Linked DNA regions of Homo sapiens: region 1 is linked to region 2. Evidence: promoter capture Hi-C in 16 types of primary human blood cells and fetal thymus (Javierre and others, 2016). All regions are on one chromosome and are shown on one strand. The core of a region is centred on a gene start or on the middle of the fragment in contact, and the rest is flanking DNA. Distances in the headings are between cores, read along the strand shown.

Evidence for each region. Contacts are between HindIII fragments. The CHiCAGO score rates a contact against its expected background, and 5 or more counts as called.
Region 1: a contact is called between a fragment that was not itself captured here and the fragment with the promoter of GPR156 in region 2, in 1 of 17 cell types (neutrophils). The highest score is 5.7, in neutrophils.

The regions. Positions count from the first base shown.
Region 1 is chr3:119,918,054-119,922,167 of GRCh38, reverse strand. The region is part of intron 4 of GSK3B (glycogen synthase kinase 3 beta); the gene reads left to right. Among named protein-coding and RNA genes, the nearest start is that of NR1I2, 140 kb to the right of the region's middle. The HindIII fragment of the contact is 4,934 bases long and covers 1-4,114 here.
Region 2 is chr3:120,282,157-120,286,482 of GRCh38, reverse strand. GPR156 (G protein-coupled receptor 156) reads left to right here and starts at 1,261. Exons shown (of 10, transcript NM_153002.3): 1 at 1,261-1,454. It overlaps LOC124909418 (a long non-coding RNA gene), which reads right to left and starts at 1,327. Exons shown (of 2, transcript XR_007096029.1): 1 at 1-1,327. The HindIII fragment of the contact is 9,811 bases long and covers 1-4,326 here.

The DNA.
Region 1 (4,114 bases), core at 770-3,269, 370 kb after region 2:
CTCCTTACCTACCTACCTCCTTCCTTCCTTCCTTCCTTCATTTCACTCTGTTGCCCAGGCTGGAGTGCAGTGGCACAATCTCGGCTCACTGCAACCTCCACCCTCTGGGTTCAAGCGATTCTCCTGCCTCAGCCTCCCAAGTAGCTGGGATTACAGGCACACGCGACCATGCCCAGCTAATTTTTGTGTTTTTAGTGGAGATGTGGTTTCATCATGTTGGCTGGGCTGGTCTTGAACTCCTGACCTCAATTGATCCACCAGCTGGGACTCCCCAAGTACTGAGATTACAGGCGCAAGCCACCACGCCTGGCCAGGATATTATTTTTTAAAATGTAATTAAATTACCATTGTCATACCTATGAAAATAAATGGTATTTCATTAGTGTCATTAGATACCCAGTTTATATTTGCCTATGACATAATTTTTTTAAGTTTATATTTTTGAATTGGCATTCAGTTAAGGTTTATATACTGTGATTGGCTGATGTGCCTCTAATGTTTCTTTTAATCCATAGGTTCTCTTTTTCTCTCTCTTGAACTTTGTTGCTAAAGAAACCGGATCATTTGACCTATACTTTCTTGGTCTGGATTTTGCTGAATTTCTGTAGTGTAATTAGTATGTTCTTTGGTCATCTATATTTCCTGCAAATTGGTGGTTAGATAACTGATAATTAAATATATTTTTGGTAGGAGTCAGGACCACTTCATTTGTAGTATTGAGTGCTTTCTGAAGGAAGAACATAATGTCTTTCTTTTCCTGACGTTAGTAGCCATTGATGATCACTGCCTAAATTCATTAATTCATTAAAGGTTACAAAATGTTGATAGTCTACTGTTATTATTCCTTCTTAATTTATAAGCTGGAATAGTTTCATAAAGAGAGATTTTCCCATATCAACTATTTGTGCCCTGAGATATAGTTTATATAAAAAGACAGGAAATGTATTTGATCCCTTTTCTTTATTTACGAAAATTTATAATAGTCTATTCCATAGCATCCTCCATAGGTACCAATGAATGAGGTGTTTTGTTGTTTTAAAGTATCTTATGTGAGTCTTAATAATATTTGACCGTTTCCTTGCTTTCTAACATGACAAAGTATTCCAAGTTCATCTTACACATTTCTTCCTCAGACTTAGAATCAACCTTTTCTTCAAGAAGACCTTGTTCTTTTAGTGGGAGGTGGTATTTAGAGACCACAGTCTGGATGCTAGAGGTGCTAATTGTCACGGGATTGGTTATTGTTTCTGGGTCTTTTTAGCGAACAGAGCTAGGAAATATGTGGGTAATTTTCTCAGATGTAATGCATCTTCTTTTTTTCCAAAAATAAATACACCATGAGTTCATACTGATACTTTCAAATAAAATCGATGAGTTTTTACTTAACTGTAATAATCTTATATTTGTATTTCCTTTCTCTTACATTGAAAATTTCATTTCTCAATGATAGTAGTATAATTAATAACTTATTCTACCCAGCACCCTACATAACCATCTTAGAATAACAATTCCAACACTAGGACCACCAGCTAAAAATAATTTAAGATCTAAGCACAGCTCAGTTTTACCCATTAGATCCCATTAGGGATGAACAATCAAATTTCTCTGTTCTAAAGAAACACTGAGGTCAGGCACATTGGCTCATGCCTGTAATCCAGCATTTTGGGAGGCTGATGTGTGCAGATCACCAGAGGTCGTCAGGAGTTCAAGACCAGCCTGGCCAACATGGCGAGACCCCACCTCTACTAAAAAATATAAAAATTGGCTGGGCATCCTGGAGCACACCTGTAATCCTAGCTACTCAGGAGGCTGAGGTAGGAGAATCACTTGTACCTGAGAAGCAGAGGTTGCAGTAAGCCAAGATCATGCCACTGCACTTCAGCCTGGGTGACAGAGCAAGACTTCATCTCAAAAAAATTGAATAATTCCTCTCTGTGTGATGATGTTCCATTAAGCATTTGTTTGTTTCAGTTTACTTTTATTATAGATTGTGGTTTTCTAAATTTTCAAATAAAATTTACTTTAAAATTCATATAAAATATTTATACATAGTTCAAAGCAAGATTGACAAAACAAGGTATGTTCAAAGAAGTTCAGCTTTTATCTCTGTTCCCTCTGCTCTGTTCCTTTCCTCTACCAGTGTTAAGTATTTTTTAAGTGTTCATAATTTATCCTACCATTTTTAAAATAAGCAAACATGCAGTTATTCTTACTCTTTTTATATAAATGGTTACATAAGGTACACATTTTTCTCTTTTTTTTCAGTTAAAAATATGTCCTAGAGATCAGTCCATATTTTCGTGTGTGTGTGTGTGTGTGTCACCTTCTTTATGGCTACCATATTACTTCATCATGTGGCTGTATTCTAGTTAATTCACCCAGTGACCAATAATGCACATATTGTTTTCCTCTTGTTTTTTGTTGTGGTTTTTTTGGTTTTTGCTATAGTGAACAACCCTGTGCACTTACGGTATTTTTGCCAGCAAATAGTTGAGCTAGATATCTGGCATCCTGTATTTTAAAAAAGAAAATAAAATTATTGTACATACTGAAGTTGGCATACAGAGAGAAATCTAGCACTCCTTTCTTTCTCCCCCTTGTGGGAAAAGGGATGATTTTTCTTTTTTTTTTTTTTCTTTTTTTTTTTTCTTATGTAACCACAGCGCTTTCAGAGGCCAGATCTATTGGCTCTGGGCATTATTCTTTGGGGACATCGATCCCTTTTATCTGAAAAGATAAAAACAGTGTCTGGAATTGATGAGTTATGAGTTGATCTCCTTCACGTAGTCATTCTACATAGTTTTATTGTAATCCTATTGTATGAAAAATGTTAGATTGTGAGAGCGATATAAAAGTAGTAAATGCAAGTAACTCTTGCCTTCATGAACCTCATCATCTGATAAGGACTTGTTTGGCATACATGTTACCAGAATGGCAACTGCATTTCTTTATAATTGCCTTTCACTTTTTCTGGGAGAGTTGAGTATTTTCTATGAGTAATACACAGGTTAAAAACTGAGCACCTTTGCTTTTCTGATGAGTATATTTCAGAACTTAAGTAGGTTTTAAAATGCAACTCTAAAACAGATGACTGGCAAATCATTGTTGTGAACTTAATTTTTTTTTAATTGAAAATACATGTTTAAGGACAGGGTCTGATCACACAAGAGAGTTGGATGCATTTTTTGAATCATGAACAAAATTGTTATTACTTGTTTTAACATGTATTCTATTGTTTTATTATTTTATTACTTCAGATATTATGGCACAGAGAAGAGGGCATTGGATTTGAGTTAAATATAACTAACTGTTCAAATTGTGCTCAACTGCAAAATACATTCCTTTCTGTGATATTTTGTCCTGTAACTGAAGCATAGTAATTGTTTTATGGAAATGTTAACAGTTTTGTACCAACTTTGAATAAAATGAAAAATAAAAAAAATTGTTTTCATTGAACCTCAATATCTTCTGTAAAAACAGGGATAATGTGTATCTCAGAGTGGTTGCAAGAATTAACTAAACAAATAGGCAAATAGGCAGAAATGCTTTTCTTGGTTTGGCACTTAGTATATGTTAAATCTGTTATATTTTAAAGTGTGTTAATTATATTTGAGTTTCTAAGAATTAATCATTCTAGTCTTTTATTTAGCCACCAAACTGCTTTTTTTTTGTTTTGTTTTGTTTTTGTTTTTTTGAGAGAGAGAGAATTCCGCTCTGTGGCCCAGGCTGGAGTGCAGTGGTGCATTCTGGGTTCACTGCAACCTCTATCTCCCGGGTCCAAGCAATTCTCCTGCCCCAGCCTTCCGAGCTGGGATTACAGGCGTGCACCACCAAGACCGGCTAATTTTTTGCATTTTAGTAGAGACGGGGTTTCACCATGTTGCCCCCAGGGTGGTCTCGAACTCCTGAGCTCAGGCAACCCGCCTGCCTTGGTCTCCCAAAGTGCTAGGGTTATAGGTGTGAGCCACCGCGCCCGGCCTCCACCAAGCTATTTAATGATTATATTTTACACCTTTATTTAATAAAATATGGCAAAATACATAAATAGTAATTGAAAGAGAAGCACTTACTCAAACCACTACAGAATATTGTGTGTGTGTGATATTGAGCAAGT
Region 2 (4,326 bases), core at 12-2,511:
AACAGCCGAAGAGCCCAGGGGAATTCCCAGGTTAAAAAAAAAAAGCCCCACAGAGATCAGAAGGGCAAATCCTCAATCTAGAGCCACAGAAGTGAAGATTTGGCTCTAGACTCTGAAGTCAGCTCTCCTACGGAAAAAAGATGGACCCAGGCCTTTTTAACTCAGGCAGCCCCCATGGAGGAGAGAGATGGTCCTCCTCAGTTTCTGCACGTTCCAAATGAAAGGGTCCTTCTGTGTAGAATGAGAGATCTGGAGAGTCCTGGGTAAAATCTCAGACATAATTCTTTCTTCTGAGAAACCAGCTTTTTGCTTACTGCCTTGAGGAAAACCTTGTCTATCTTTCTTTCTTCCTCTTGTTTTCCCCCTCAGTAGAATCCTGTGAAAAGAAGTCTTTGGGTATCACAATGTGTAAAACAGTTAAGAATGTAGCCACTGTCTTGTCACAGTGGGGTCTGCGGACCTGGCCTCTCTCTTCCCGTCCTCTACAACCAAAGATTTCCTCTGCGCAGTTGTAAAAATGTGGAATGTCCTAATGCACATAAATAGGTCTGAGATTTTAAAATAAATGAAACAAATATAATATGGAAAGTCTAAGTGGATTCCCAAGACCATTTCCAGGTCTCCCCTCTATGTTTCTCCTTGAGGGTGTCTTAAACACAACATCTCACACATATTTTTAAGCGGAAGACAGTGGGCTGGGTGCGAACATCTTGTTTGTGGCCTCCTGTAAGCATTCTTGGAAAAAGAAACGTACTTGTCTTTCTGATTATAAAATAAGCAAAAGCTCAACGTAAAGAATTTGGCAACTCCAGAGAGTATAAAATAAGAAAACTAATTGGTAACTCCGACGCCACTCCAGAAATAAAAATGAGCATTCGCGGAGAATCCTTCCAGTCTCCTTACCGAGGCCGGCTAGGGACCTGAATCTGAAGCTCCTCGCCCCGGGGCCAGCTCCTGCGGCAGCCGCTGGCTCGAGGCCCGGGAAGGGGCGCTGAGGGGAAGGCGCCCCCCAGGGAAGGTCTCTGAGGAGACGGCCGGAGGCGGGGCCGCCCCAGGGGACTCGGCGGCGACGCAAGGAGAAAGATCCGAGGAGCTGGAGGAGCCGTGAGGCGCGTGGAGTCTGCAAGGTCCCGGAGCCCTCCCGGCCCTCGCGGGAGAGCAGGGTCGAGGCGCGCCACGCGGGCGGCGCCAGGGAGGGGCGGGCAGGCGTGGCTCAGCCAGTGCCCCGGCCAGAGGCGCCCGGCGCCCCGCGCACACCTCAGAGGCCTGCGCCGCCGTCCCGCCGCCTCCACGCCAGGCTCCCGGCGCGGCGATGGGCGCGGGCCCCTGTCTCTGCCCCGGCCCGCCCCTTCCCGCCCCTTCCAGCCCCGCGAACGCGCGAGACGCCGGGGGACCGTGGGCGTCCTGCACATAGCAGCGGGCTTGGCGCTTCTCGGCGGTCCGACGCTGATGAGGTGAGCACAGCGACCTTAAGGATCCACAAAACTTCAAACACTTAATTATTAAGTGAAAGTGGAAAGGGGGAGGGGCTTTCTCTCCCTTTCCAGAATCTGGGCAGTTTGTTTGGAACCGGTAAAGAAACTCTCATAGGAACTTGAGGTGAGCAGGGGTCACGCATCAGGGATGCGAGTGGCAATTTCAGTGGAAGAGACGGGAGAGTACTGTAATTTGGTGTGAAGATGGGGCCGTGGGTTTTCTGCTGAATAAGCGACCGGCTGTGCTGAAAATGAGAGATCCCGAAACAGTTTCCCACCGCCTGTAGACTTTCCAGAGTCTCCTCACGCCGAATCTGCTTTGCAGGGCATGTTCACCCCCAGGGTGTAGAGTGGCGGGCACGATGGGCTCCCCCATGGAGATTGCAAAGTCCTGAAAAGGGACAATTGTATTGCACTGCGTCTGTTGAACTGCCTTGCTTCTGGGCATGAGGGAGTCACCTGGAAGCTGCAACATCCTTGTACCCTGGCAAGCAGCCCTTTCCAAGTTAGCTCTGTCAGAAACTAGAGGCCTCTAGGTAGAACTCAAGGTATCCATGTACTCGTGAAGAATACAAACCTTGAGGTTTTTAAAATCGAATTTTGTTAAGATTTCAGGATAGAAATCTGGGAAGAGAAGTCATGGCATGGCATAACTTACCCCTTTGTTAGTTTTCTAGGTACATGCATGCTTGAATTAGAGGTAAATGATGCCCTAGCCTATCATAAAATGTCTTTCCTGGTGTAGTTCTTTAAACCAGAATATGGAGGATAACATTACATTTTTGCATCCTAGATAAAAGGGAAAGATTTTCAGATGGGGCTTACACAGCGGGAGAAATTGTTGATATAGTTGTATTAGGCAGCAAGGCCTGCAAAGAAAAACTTCTTTTTCTCCACCAGTGGCTGAATTCTGCACAGAATGTCTCCTCGCAGTCTGGGTAGCAGCCCGGCTTGCAAAAACAGTGCTTCTTTCATTGCTGCAGGTGGGGCAAATGCGCTTGCGGATAAATGGCTGGGGAAGCGTTTGCTTACAGGTTAAGGCAATTTGAGTCTGGAGAATAAAGTGCTTTAGCAGGCTGTGCTTGAGTTAGGTGTCCCTTGTGAGGAATAGAGGTGGCTTTCTGGTCCCCATTTTGCCAGCCTAATTCCCCTTCAGGGACACTACTGTCTCTGGAATGTTCCCTCTGTTTCCCCTTCTCTTCCACCCCCAGCTTTTAGCTTCTCCCCATTCCCCAGTAAAGTCTAGAATTGAGCCTGGTCAGAGTCAAAGTTCTGATAGCCTAGGGATATAGAACTTCAAGCCTGGTGAAGGCAGAAATGAGACCTAGGAGAGACCCAAGATGGGTGAGATGAAACAACTTTCAGCCTAGAAGGCTCTCAAAAGAGTGGAAAAATAATGATTGAGGGAAACAGATTCTCTGGAAAGGAGAATAGGTGCTTAAGTGTTTGTTTTCAGCTGAGGGTTTTAATATTTCCATTTTTGTTGTTTAACCATAAGGGAATTTCCATTATAGGGTAGGAGGAGGATGAGGCCTTCTCTGAAAACTGCATCCTTCTCCTTGAATTTGCATTTTATTCCATTCTTATGTAGGTTTCAGAGATTAATTGGGGGAAGGGGGAGAGAGGAAAGAAGCCAGAGGCTCTGACATGCTGCAGAAACAGTGCAACGTGGACTGACTTGGGCTGCAAAGGTGGATTTGGGGGTTGAAAGAAATGTTCTACATTTAGTTGAAAAAAAAAAATCAGAGCCTTTATTTTGCAAAGGTCTTGAGAATCAGAACATTCATGTTTAGTTGCTGATGAATTTTGCCTGATAAAGGATGCAAATCACTATCTCACCTTTTTTTCTCCAGTACTTTATTATGAAAAATTTTAGACATACAGAGATGTTTTCTACCTCTCATTTTATAAACTTATTATCTTAAAACAAACTTGTTAATAAAAATCAGTGTTTAGAATCCAGACATATGTGATCTGGTCCTGGACAGAGCTTGAATCAGAAGGTGTTTCAAATATAGATGTGTGAAGGATATTAACATTTTAAGAAAAAAATATGGATCTTATTCTTCTGACTTTCCCATAAGAATCTTGAGCAGACCCCTTAACTGCCTTCTTTTTCCCATTCTTAAAATGTCAGTCAGTTGGATGATATTACTCTCCTGCTTAACACCCTCCAATGGCTTCCCCTCACACTGTGAATAACATTCAACTCTCCACCAGGGCTTGTGATTTGGTCTGGTGCCCTCATATTCTATGGCCGTCCTCTTGCTTACCATCGTCCTTGCTCTTCCCTCTGCCTGAACACTCTTCCTTCAGACACTGCCACTGCTTCTTTTCTCAGCTCATTCCAGTTTCTTTTCATACTCTCCAGAATGATGGCCACCTGATCTAAAACAGCCTGTGGTCACTCCCTGTCTTCTGACCCTGCTTTATCCTTCTTCATGGCACTTAGCACTCCCTGACACTATATAGTATATGTGTTTCCTTGTTAATTGGGCATGTTCCCCACTCTAATGTAAACTCCATCAAGACAAGGAATTTTTTTGTCTTATTTATGGCTGTGTTCCTATTTGGTATATTATGAGCAATTAATAAATAACTGTTGGATTAATTAGGTAACTAAATTACACAAATAAGGCATTGACTCCCATAAGGGTGGCAGAACCCTTGGTAAAATACTAGAAGTCCTTTGAGGTAATTCATAATTCAAGTTAATCAATATTTGATAGGTAAATGATGACCCTGGAGATCAGTGGCCTCTTTTATCCTCACAGCACTTCTCAGCTGAATCCTATGCTAATAGCTGGCCAGTTTTGACAAACCCACATCCCAAACAAGACATAAAATATTT